Regions from separate parts of the Homo sapiens genome. Here region 2 is linked to region 1. Evidence: promoter capture Hi-C in 16 types of primary human blood cells and fetal thymus (Javierre and others, 2016). All regions are on one chromosome and are shown on one strand. Each heading gives the region's core, a stretch centred on a gene start or on the middle of the fragment in contact. The rest is flanking DNA. Distances are from core to core; before and after follow the strand shown. Region 1 holds the start of TMEM107 (transmembrane protein 107). Region 2 overlaps KDM6B (lysine demethylase 6B).

The links. The method cuts DNA at HindIII sites, captures the fragments that hold promoters and counts their contacts. A CHiCAGO score of 5 or more calls a contact.
Region 2: a fragment that was not itself captured here is called in contact with the fragment with the promoter of TMEM107 in region 1 in 1 of 17 cell types (erythroblasts); the score reaches 5.5 in erythroblasts.

Annotation. Positions count from the first base shown.
Region 1 is chr17:8,174,471-8,178,857 of GRCh38, forward strand. TMEM107 (transmembrane protein 107) reads right to left here and starts at 1,910. Exons shown (of 5, transcript NM_183065.4): 1 at 1,730-1,910; 2 at 1,489-1,556; 3 at 1,287-1,387; 4 at 50-146. The coding sequence starts at 1,816. It overlaps LOC105371520 (a long non-coding RNA gene), which reads left to right. Exons shown (of 4, transcript NR_188261.1): 2 at 306-404. RefSeq lists enhancers at 1,298-1,347, 1,398-1,457, 1,449-2,060, 1,488-1,537, 1,698-1,787 and 3 more. The HindIII fragment of the contact is 13,203 bases long and covers 1-4,387 here.
Region 2 is chr17:7,834,729-7,839,115 of GRCh38, forward strand. The region is part of intron 1 of KDM6B (lysine demethylase 6B); the gene reads left to right. LOC124904106 (translation initiation factor IF-2) reads right to left here. Exons shown (of 4, transcript XM_047437265.1): 4 at 680-1,916. The coding sequence ends at 889. Among named protein-coding and RNA genes, the nearest start is that of KDM6B, 2.7 kb to the left of the region's middle. RefSeq lists enhancers at 1-322, 1,991-2,040 and silencers at 871-1,290, 1,311-1,370, 2,911-3,060. The HindIII fragment of the contact is 2,138 bases long and covers 2,069-4,206 here.

The DNA.
Region 1 (4,387 bases), core at 660-3,159:
TTAGGGCCAACCTTCCTCCCTCATCCCCAAATATTGGATGCTACCACACCTGCAGAAGACAAAAATGTACCAATACGTAGTGCACTCCCAACGCTCGAATATGAAGAAGGACAGGGCCACGGATGCACTACAGTGAGCCCCAATGGCTTGGGAAGGCACGAGATTAAGGAAAGTCTTTGGATCGACAGACAGTGATGGGTCAGAAAAGGCCAGTGGTGGGGCTGGCATCTGCATTCAGGTTCATCCCTTGCTCCCTCACCATGTTTCAAGGGCTAGAGTCAGCAGCTCTGACTTCTGAATTTTAGGACAGTCATGTGAGGAGAGACCAGAAGTGACTGCACAGATCGGACCTCAGGCTACCCTACCCCTTATCTGTGGGCCAGCCTGGATCCTTCAGATGAGAGGTAAGAGTAGGCTCTCCTTCTGCTATGCCACAAAGGAGTGCTGACAGCGACTTAATATGCGCTGGAATCAGCCTCCAGTGTCCTGGTCCTCCTGGTCCACAATTCTCTGACCCATGTGCCTCATCTCCTTTGCCTCTTCTGAGTTCCCAGTGCTCGCTTCCGTTGCCTCTTCTGAGTTCCCATTGTGCTTTATATCTTTTGTTTGTTTTTTGACAGAGTCTTGCTCTGTTGCCCTGGCTGGAGTGCAGTGGCACGATCTCAGCTCACTGCAACCTCTGCCTCCCGGGTTCAAGCAATTCTCCTTCCTCAGTCTCCTGAGTAGCTGGGATTACAGGAGTGCGCCGCCACGCCCGACTAATTTTTGTATTTTTAGTAGAGACGGGGGTTTCACCATGTTGGTCAGGCCGGTCTCGAACTCCTGACCTCAGGTGGTCCACCTGCCTCGGCCTCCCAAAGTGCTGGGATTACATGCGTGAGCCATCGCGCCCTGCCTGTGCTTTCTATCTTCACACACTTCTATAGCACAGTGCTTATCACACTGAATTACAGATTTGTATCTACCTCCTCCTCATTGTAAAAAGAAACGGTGGGGTTTTTATTATTCCTATTATTTTTGTAGACTTGGGTTCTCACTATGTTGCCTCCTGCCTGCGCCTCCCACAGTGCTGGGATTACAGACGTGAGCCAACATGCCTGGCCAAAAACTGTATTTTACTCTCATTTTGGGATTTTAAGTGCCTAGTAAACAGCAGGATTTAGCACATCGTTGAAGATCTTTGAACTGGAAGGATTGGCTACAGCAGACACTATTGTGTCAGGTGGCTGAAGGGAGTCCTGATAGAAGTGGGTCGTGTGGGAAAGGTGGGCAGGCAGAAAGGATACAGATGAGGCTCTGGGTGCTGTTGAACATGGAGACTCCTGAGAGGAAACCGGCCAGCTCCACTGCAAAGAGGCCCAGGGTGACAGAGAGCGCGGCCACCAGCCTGCAGAGAGGAAGTGGACTGGCCCAGGCCTTTGGACTTATTCTAAGACCCCTCCACTCCCACCACCTCTTCGTTCTGGCCACCCCGTCCCAAGAGCTCACTGAATGTCCTGCTTGTCATACTCCTCGGGGGTGAACGTGAGAGGCAGGCAGGCCTGTATGTTGCTGTCCTGGGAGCAGGGCACAGGAAGAGAAGTGAAAAAGGGGCAGGCTGCAGGGCAGGCCTGGGGGCGGCGGGAAACAAGAAAACCCAAGAGGGTAAGACACTGGGAGGGGGCAGGGTAGGACTAGGACCACTCAGAGATGGGAATGGGGACGGATTGAGTGCAGCCGTGGGTCTTACCCGGGACCAGAATAAGGTGATGACGACCACCAGATGCGCCAGGAGCGTCAGGAAGCGAGAGGGCACAAGCCCTGAGACCCGGCCCATGGCCCTCGGGGACAAGGGCGGCGGTCTCTGAGGCTGGAAGTTCAGAGACAGCGACTCCTGAAGTCTCCCCGCAAGCCGACAAATCTAGACGAACGCCTCCTTCCCGCCCGCTCAGGCACCGCCCAGTTGCCTTGGTAACCGTGTACGCGGGCTCGGCGCCGCGTTCTCGGAAATCCTCGCGAGCAGTACATTCTCCGGCTGCTGCGGGTCTCTCAGGGCCAGCGAAGGTCAGGGGTACCCGAAGGCGCTTCTAACCTAACGGCTGGGTACCCGCGCGCAGCCAGGCCCTTTGTTCCTCAGAGGGTGCGAGGTGGCACAGCCCCGCAGCGCCCGATCTGCCCACGCAGGGCGGATGAACGGAAACCCACCCTGGCCTAGCTTGGGGACACCAATGCTTCTGCTGTTGCCCACGCCGGGAGCGGCCCCCAGCCCCAGCTACGCTGCCCAGTTGTGGATCACTTGAGACCGCTGCCACCACCACGCCGGGCTGAGTTCCCCGCCATGCCGAAGACTCAGACCCGCTCCCCTTCCCCTCCTCTGCATGCCTTTAGCTTCCCACCAAGCTGGGCCTGAGAAACAAGGGACCCGAACCTGGAGAGGCCGGTGTTCCTGGACTGCTCTGCAGTCACAGATTGTCACGGAGCCCCTGGTTGTCTGAGGACCCCAGGCCTGAACCTTCCTTGAGGAAGACTGATTTCTTTCAGACTACTTTGCTCAGTTTGGTGAGGGATTTGCAGAGTGCAAAAAATGGCCAGCGTCCTTAAACTAGCATGGGGATAAGAGCAGAGCAAGGTGGCTGGAAAGAGTGGGAGTGGACGAAGGGAATGGGACAGTCCCTGCGTCTCTGGGAGGCTTGGAGCCGGCTGGAAGGGAAACTCAACTCAGATTTCTTTGTCCCTTGGAGGTGCTGGGCCTCCGACATTGCCCAGCTACAGTCCAAGAAGCTCTTATCATCGGCGACCTCATGACCTTTGGGCCTCAGCGCAGGTCCCTGCAGATCTGAAAGTTCTTTAATTGCTGAGTCAAGTCCCATCCTCAAGGAACCTCCCGGCCCATCTCCCAGGAGAACAATCTCTTCCTACTCCCCACTCCCCATCTCAGTGCTTTTAGCCAGCCTAAACTACAAGCCCAAGAGGCATTTCTCATTCCTTCAACAAATATTTGTATATGTTTATTGATTACCTAGTAAGGGTATTCTAGTCAGGGAGATCAACAACAGACATGCAAACAAATAAATCCGTAAGATAATAGGCGCTACAAACAGGGAAAAGCGGGCTGTGCACTGTGGCTCACACCTGTAATCCCAGCGCTTTAGGAGGCCTAGGAGGGCGGATCACCTGAGGTCAGGAGCTCGAGACCAGACTGACCAACATGCTGAAACCCTGTCTCCACTAAAAATACAAAATTAGCCGGGCGTGGTGGCGCGTGCCTGTAATCCCAGCTATTCGGGAGGCTGAGGCATGGGAATCGCTTGAACCCAGGAGGTGGAGGTTGCAGTGAGCCGAGATCGCGCCATTGCACTCCAGCCTCTGCAACAAGAGCGCAACTCCGTCTCCAAAAAAAAAAGAAACGCTAGAATTATAATTCTATAAAAATAGGGCATTTATAATTCTATTAAAATAGAGCATTTATTTTGTTTTATTTTATTTATTTACTTTTTCTGAGACGGAGTCTCGCTCTGTCTCCCAGGCTGGAGTGCAGTGGCGCAATTTCGGCTCACTGCAAGCTCGGCCTCCCGGGTTCACGCCATTCTCCCGTCTCAGCCTCCTGAGTAGCTGGGACTACAGGCGCTCGCCACCATGCCCGGCTAATTTTTTGTGTTTTTAGGAGAGACGGAGTTTCACTGTGTTAGCCAGGATGGTCTCGATCTCCTGCCCTCGTGATCCGCCAGCCTCGGCCTTGCAAAGTGCTGGGATTACAGGCATGAGCCACCGCGCCCAGCCGGACATTTAACCTTAAACTTTATTTTAGAAACTTTGGCCAAAAATTGGCCGGGAGCGGTGGCTCAGGCATGTAATCCCAGCACTTTGGGAGACCGAGGCAGGGAGATCACCTGAGGTCAGGAGTTTCAGACCGGCCTGGCCAACATGGTGAAACCTCATCTCTACTGAAAAAAAAAAAAAAAAAAAAGTTAAAAAGTTAGCCAGGTGTGGTGGCGCCCGCCTCTAATCCCAGCTATTCCAGAGGCTGAGGGAGGAGAAGTGCTTGAACCCGGGAGGCAGAGGTTGCAGTGATCCAAGATCGTGCCACTGCACTCCCGCCTGGGAAACAGACCAAGACTTCGTCTCAAAAAAAAAGAAAAGAAATAAAAAGAAAATGCACTCTGGGACCAGAAGCAAAAGCCCATGCCTGTAATCCCAGCACTTTGGGAGGCCAAGGCGAAGTATTCCTTGAACCCAAGACTTTGAAGCCAGTCTGAGCAACATAGTGAGACACCTCTCTCTGTTAAAACAATAATAAAGGCCGGGAATGGTGGCTTACGCTTGTAATCCCAGAACTTTGGGAGGCCGAAGCGGGCGGATCCCCTGAGGTCAGGAGTTTGAGACCAGCCTGACAAACATGATGAAACCC
Region 2 (4,387 bases), core at 1,888-4,387, 340 kb before region 1:
GTGGTCAGACTTGGGTGTGTCCCGGTCCCAGGACTACTTTAAGTCTCCCTCCAGTTCTCTGCACGGGTGAGGTGTAGAAGCCTCAGCCTGACCTTCCCACCAGCGGCCCCGAGAGCTTCCCAGCGGTAGCCTTCGCCTTCTTCCCACCACCCCCCTGCGCCTCCCTTTCACTCCGTCTCGCCCCGCTAGCCTCCTCATCCCTAGTCCTTCTCCCACTCCGCCGTTCCCGAACCCTAGCGCGCCCCGCACGGCTTCTCGGTGCGGAGCCTTCCCAACGTAGCCACAAGATGGCGAGGGCGAGACGCACCCAGGGCAGGTGGGGGATGTGACCGTGAAAGTAGCTGAAGCCCCCCGCCCCGGTCCGAGGGAAAGGTAGGCTGAGGCCCCCACTTGACTTCCTGTGATCTGGGCCCCCTCACAGGAAATTGTGGGCAGGAGGTCGCAGCGCAGAAGACGGGGAGGGGGCTGGGGACTCAATCTCCGCCTCTCCCGGCTGGGGTAAATAGTGGGGAGGGGGGCACGCGGGGTGGTTGCTAAGCGACGTAGATTCGCTTCCTGTTTGCTGCAGCTTATGTTGTGACACTGGTGGGGGTTAGAGACAGCGGAGGGCCTGAAGACTGTGGGGAAGGCCGAGGGCAGGACGCCTGGTTCCCGGGACAGGAAGAGCCCTGGGAGGAAGGCGGGGAGGTAGCGAGCTGCGCCGCGACCGAAGGGGACTCGGTGGTTGTCCGGAGGGGGTTAGGGACCGAGGCGCAGCGTTGACCTCGGCTCCCCTTCCCTCCCCTGGGTTGCTTGTCCTGTTGCCAGAGTAACTGGAGGGCGAGACTTGGGAGCCGGATTCCCGAACTCTCCCGTCCGCCCAATCCGCTCCAGCGGTCGGCCCTGACGTCAGGGCCCTGGCAGCCAATGGGGAAGGGGGATGATAGCGACAGGAAAGGGAGAGGGGAGGGGCAGCGGCGGAGGCTGGGAGGCAGCAGCTGCCTGGGACCCGCACGTGCACTCCCACACGCTCGCGCCCACCCCCCGCCCTGCGCCGCACGCGCCCGAGCACCCCCTTGCGCCTGCGCGGCGAGCCGGGCGCCCCCCTCCCCTCGTGGAGTCTGTGTAAAGCCGCCTGAGGCTGCGCTCTTCAGCCCCTGGGGACCCACACGTCTCGGTCGGTCTGCACCGTTTCGCCGGTCGCGACCATAATGCCCAGCCTGGCTCGGGAGGGCCGACTACCTGTTCCCCACCTCCCCCCAGCTGGCGCCCCACACTCCCAGGTGGGCTGGGCGGAGCTGTGGTTTCCGGCCCCATCTGCTCGGCCGCTGCCTTCCCGGGCTCTGGCTTAAGTTGCTTTCCCAAGAGAAAGCGAGCGGGTACCAGCGCCCCTTCCCAAGGCTTCTCCCGCCCGGGCCCAGCTGCTGTTGGTGGCGGAGGAGGGCACTGCGGGGAAGCCCCGGACGGCCCAGGTGATTCTTCTGGGCCATCACGCCCCTTCTTCGCGTGAATTCCTGCTCTTTGATGTGCACCAAAACCCTTCCCATTCCTAACGTTTCCTCCTCGTTCGCCCCGGCGTTCTTTGCACCTCCCTCGGCTCCTTTCGGGCTGTCTGTCCCTGTCTCCACTCGTCCTTCTTCGCTTCTCCCGGTTATATAACTCTTCCTCTCGCCGTGTCCTGGTTTCAACTCCACAGACTCCGCCCTGGAACAGCGCGGGGAGGGGCGGGAGAGTTGGGGACCCAGACAGATTCCGGCTGGCGGCCGGCTGGGGCACGGGGGATCCTGCAGATGGAAGACGGAGCCCCGCGGGACCCGGTGCCCCCGTCCCCGCCTGCCGGCCCCCACCGAGATCTCGCCCAGGAGAGAGAAGGCACAGTATCTCCGAGGGGCGTGTCGGGCCGACTCCCGTCAGAAATGTGGGTTGGGAGGTCAGGGCTGCAGGCGGAGAGGAGGAGACAGGCAAGAGGCCTGAGTCCCTGGGATTGGAGTCGTATTAGGGGTAAAAGAGATAAGGACGCCTGGGTTTCTTCTTATGTCTCCTTTTTGGGTTCCCAGAATTCCTAAGGGTGTTTCCAGTGTTTCCAGGAAGCTTAGCCAGCACACCCACTCCGCCCCGTAGGGGTCAAAGGTCTGTGTTAGAGGTGGCCTGGGATGATGTCACTAGTGCACGTGCCCCGGGATGGTTGCCAGGCAATGAGGCTTCCTCCCCCTTCTATTCCCTCCCACCTCTGCCCCGAGTCCAGTTCCAGTCCCGTGCCATCTCTTTCCCCTCTCCCTTCCCGTGGTCTTAGCATCCTGCAGGTGGGAAACCCCGGCCTGGAGTTTTGTGAGGGGGAGGGGCACGGGTGTGGTGTGGCTGAAAGACTTTGCCCCTTTGCTGGGCTGAGGGAGCCTTGGGTCACTTTTCCCTAGATTGGCACAGAAGAGCTTCCCCTCCAAGGCTCCGCCCCCATAGAAAAAGCTACCTAGCCGTCATTTTACTTTCCCACCTGCTGCATGGCCAAGTGTCCTATTGCCCCCTTCCCCAGATTGATTTGAAGTGGGAGTGGTTGAAAGACGGAAGAGTTGTGTGTAGTATGGGGGGGGGTTCACTACACACCAGCTTATCCCTGAAATCCCCATAATGGCACACCCCCATCTGCAAACAATGAAAGGAAAAGGGTCAAGAAACAGTATTAGGCTGAAAAGTCAGGGTCTTTATTGTGTGTATGCGGGTGAATCGGTTTGTAGCCTCTCACTTGGTGGAGGGGGACTCAGTTGATTGCTATGGTTGTTCTTCTCTATTAAGTCCCAGGGTTGGTGATGGTATTGGAATGAATCGGTTTGTGCTTTTATGTACCTTAGAGCTTGGGCTGTCAGATCAGACCTGGATTCTAATTCTAGCTCTGTCACTTAGTGGCTACTAGGACTTGGAGAGGTCAGAACCTCTCTGAGCCTCGTATGTTAATCTTGAACATTTAAATATCAACACCTACCTTGAAGGCCGCTGGGAGGAAAAAAATGAGATAATTTATGCAAATCACTTAGCACAGTGCCTGGCACAGAATGAACACAGAATGAGTGCTTGTTGTTATGAAATACTTTTATTATTAAATGGTGTTAGTTACTAGTTTATTATTATTGCTGTGGGTCTGCTCCAAACCAGCGGTAACCGTAGGAGTTTGTTAAGGGGTAGTGGATAGTTTGTGTTAATTTGGAGATTGGGGTTAGGGGGCTGGGGATTAGCTTCAACTGCTTTGTGCATTTTATTTGATGAAGGCTTTAGGCAGATTTGTATTGCTTTCTTTAGGATTATTTTTTTTTCTCTTGGACAAGAAATAGCTAAGACTATTCCGTGGGCCTTGAAAATAAAATAATTGTATTATGGTTCTTGATTTTGAAGCAAGACCCCAGCCCCCTCCCGTGTTGATCTCTGGAGCCTTTCGTTTTGCAGAGGGACTCCACAGTTTCTCTAGTGGGGACAGGGCTAGGCTGAGGGGTGTGTAAAAGGTTGGGGTGGGTGGGTGGAGAGAGACTAGTGCTGGGGGCTGGGGGGGCGGGTAGTTAAAGGAAGAGACCGGAAGGGAGGAGGAGGGAGCCTGCTGGTGGGGAGGGAGGGAGGGGAGGAGGAGGTGGAGGAGGAGGAGGAGGAGGAGGGAGGGGGTTGGGGAGAGCCTGCTACAGTTCTTTGTTTGACTCCGGGACTCAGGGACGGGGAGGAGGAGGGAGGGAATAGAAGGGGGAGGAAGCCCCCCCCCCCACACACACACAAACACACACACCCCAGCTGTTGGACAGATGAATTACAGCCTCCGGCTTGGGGCCAGGGCTGGTGAGGGATTAAAGCTCTGGGGCTGGCCCTTTAAATGGCTGTTAGCCCCTCCCCCACTCTGTTGTCCAGACACCCCTCACACACCCTCTGACCCCCTAGGCTTCCCCCTCACTCCTCCTCTTGGTCTGTCCTAAAGTCTGCCCACTCTGCTCTCGACTAGCCCTTTCCTAGTCCCTCCCCCCAGCACAACCGCAGAACACAGATGCCACAGACTATAGATACACACTCTCTGCTCCCAGGTTATGAGCCTCCCTGTCCTGGAGAGTTCTAGCCTGAAGCTCCCTTCCCGAGCAGAAGGGCCTTGCCTGCCTGACCTCTACCACCTACAGCTGACCACTACCCTGGCTTAGGAAGGAGGCCTTGGTGGGTCACAAATAGCACCTCCCTGGGGGCAGTGTCATCAGCAGCCACAGAAGCTTGCGGAACATTGCATCATGGAGACTGGGGGCTAGAGGCCTGAGTCTCTGAGGCAAGGGGAAGGATGGGGGCCGGAAGGCTAGGGAATATAGAGATTAGATTGGGACCCCAAGTGTTTGGGTCCATAAGGGCAGAGAACTATGATTAAGGGAGCAGAAAACATAGGTCCCTGAGGAGC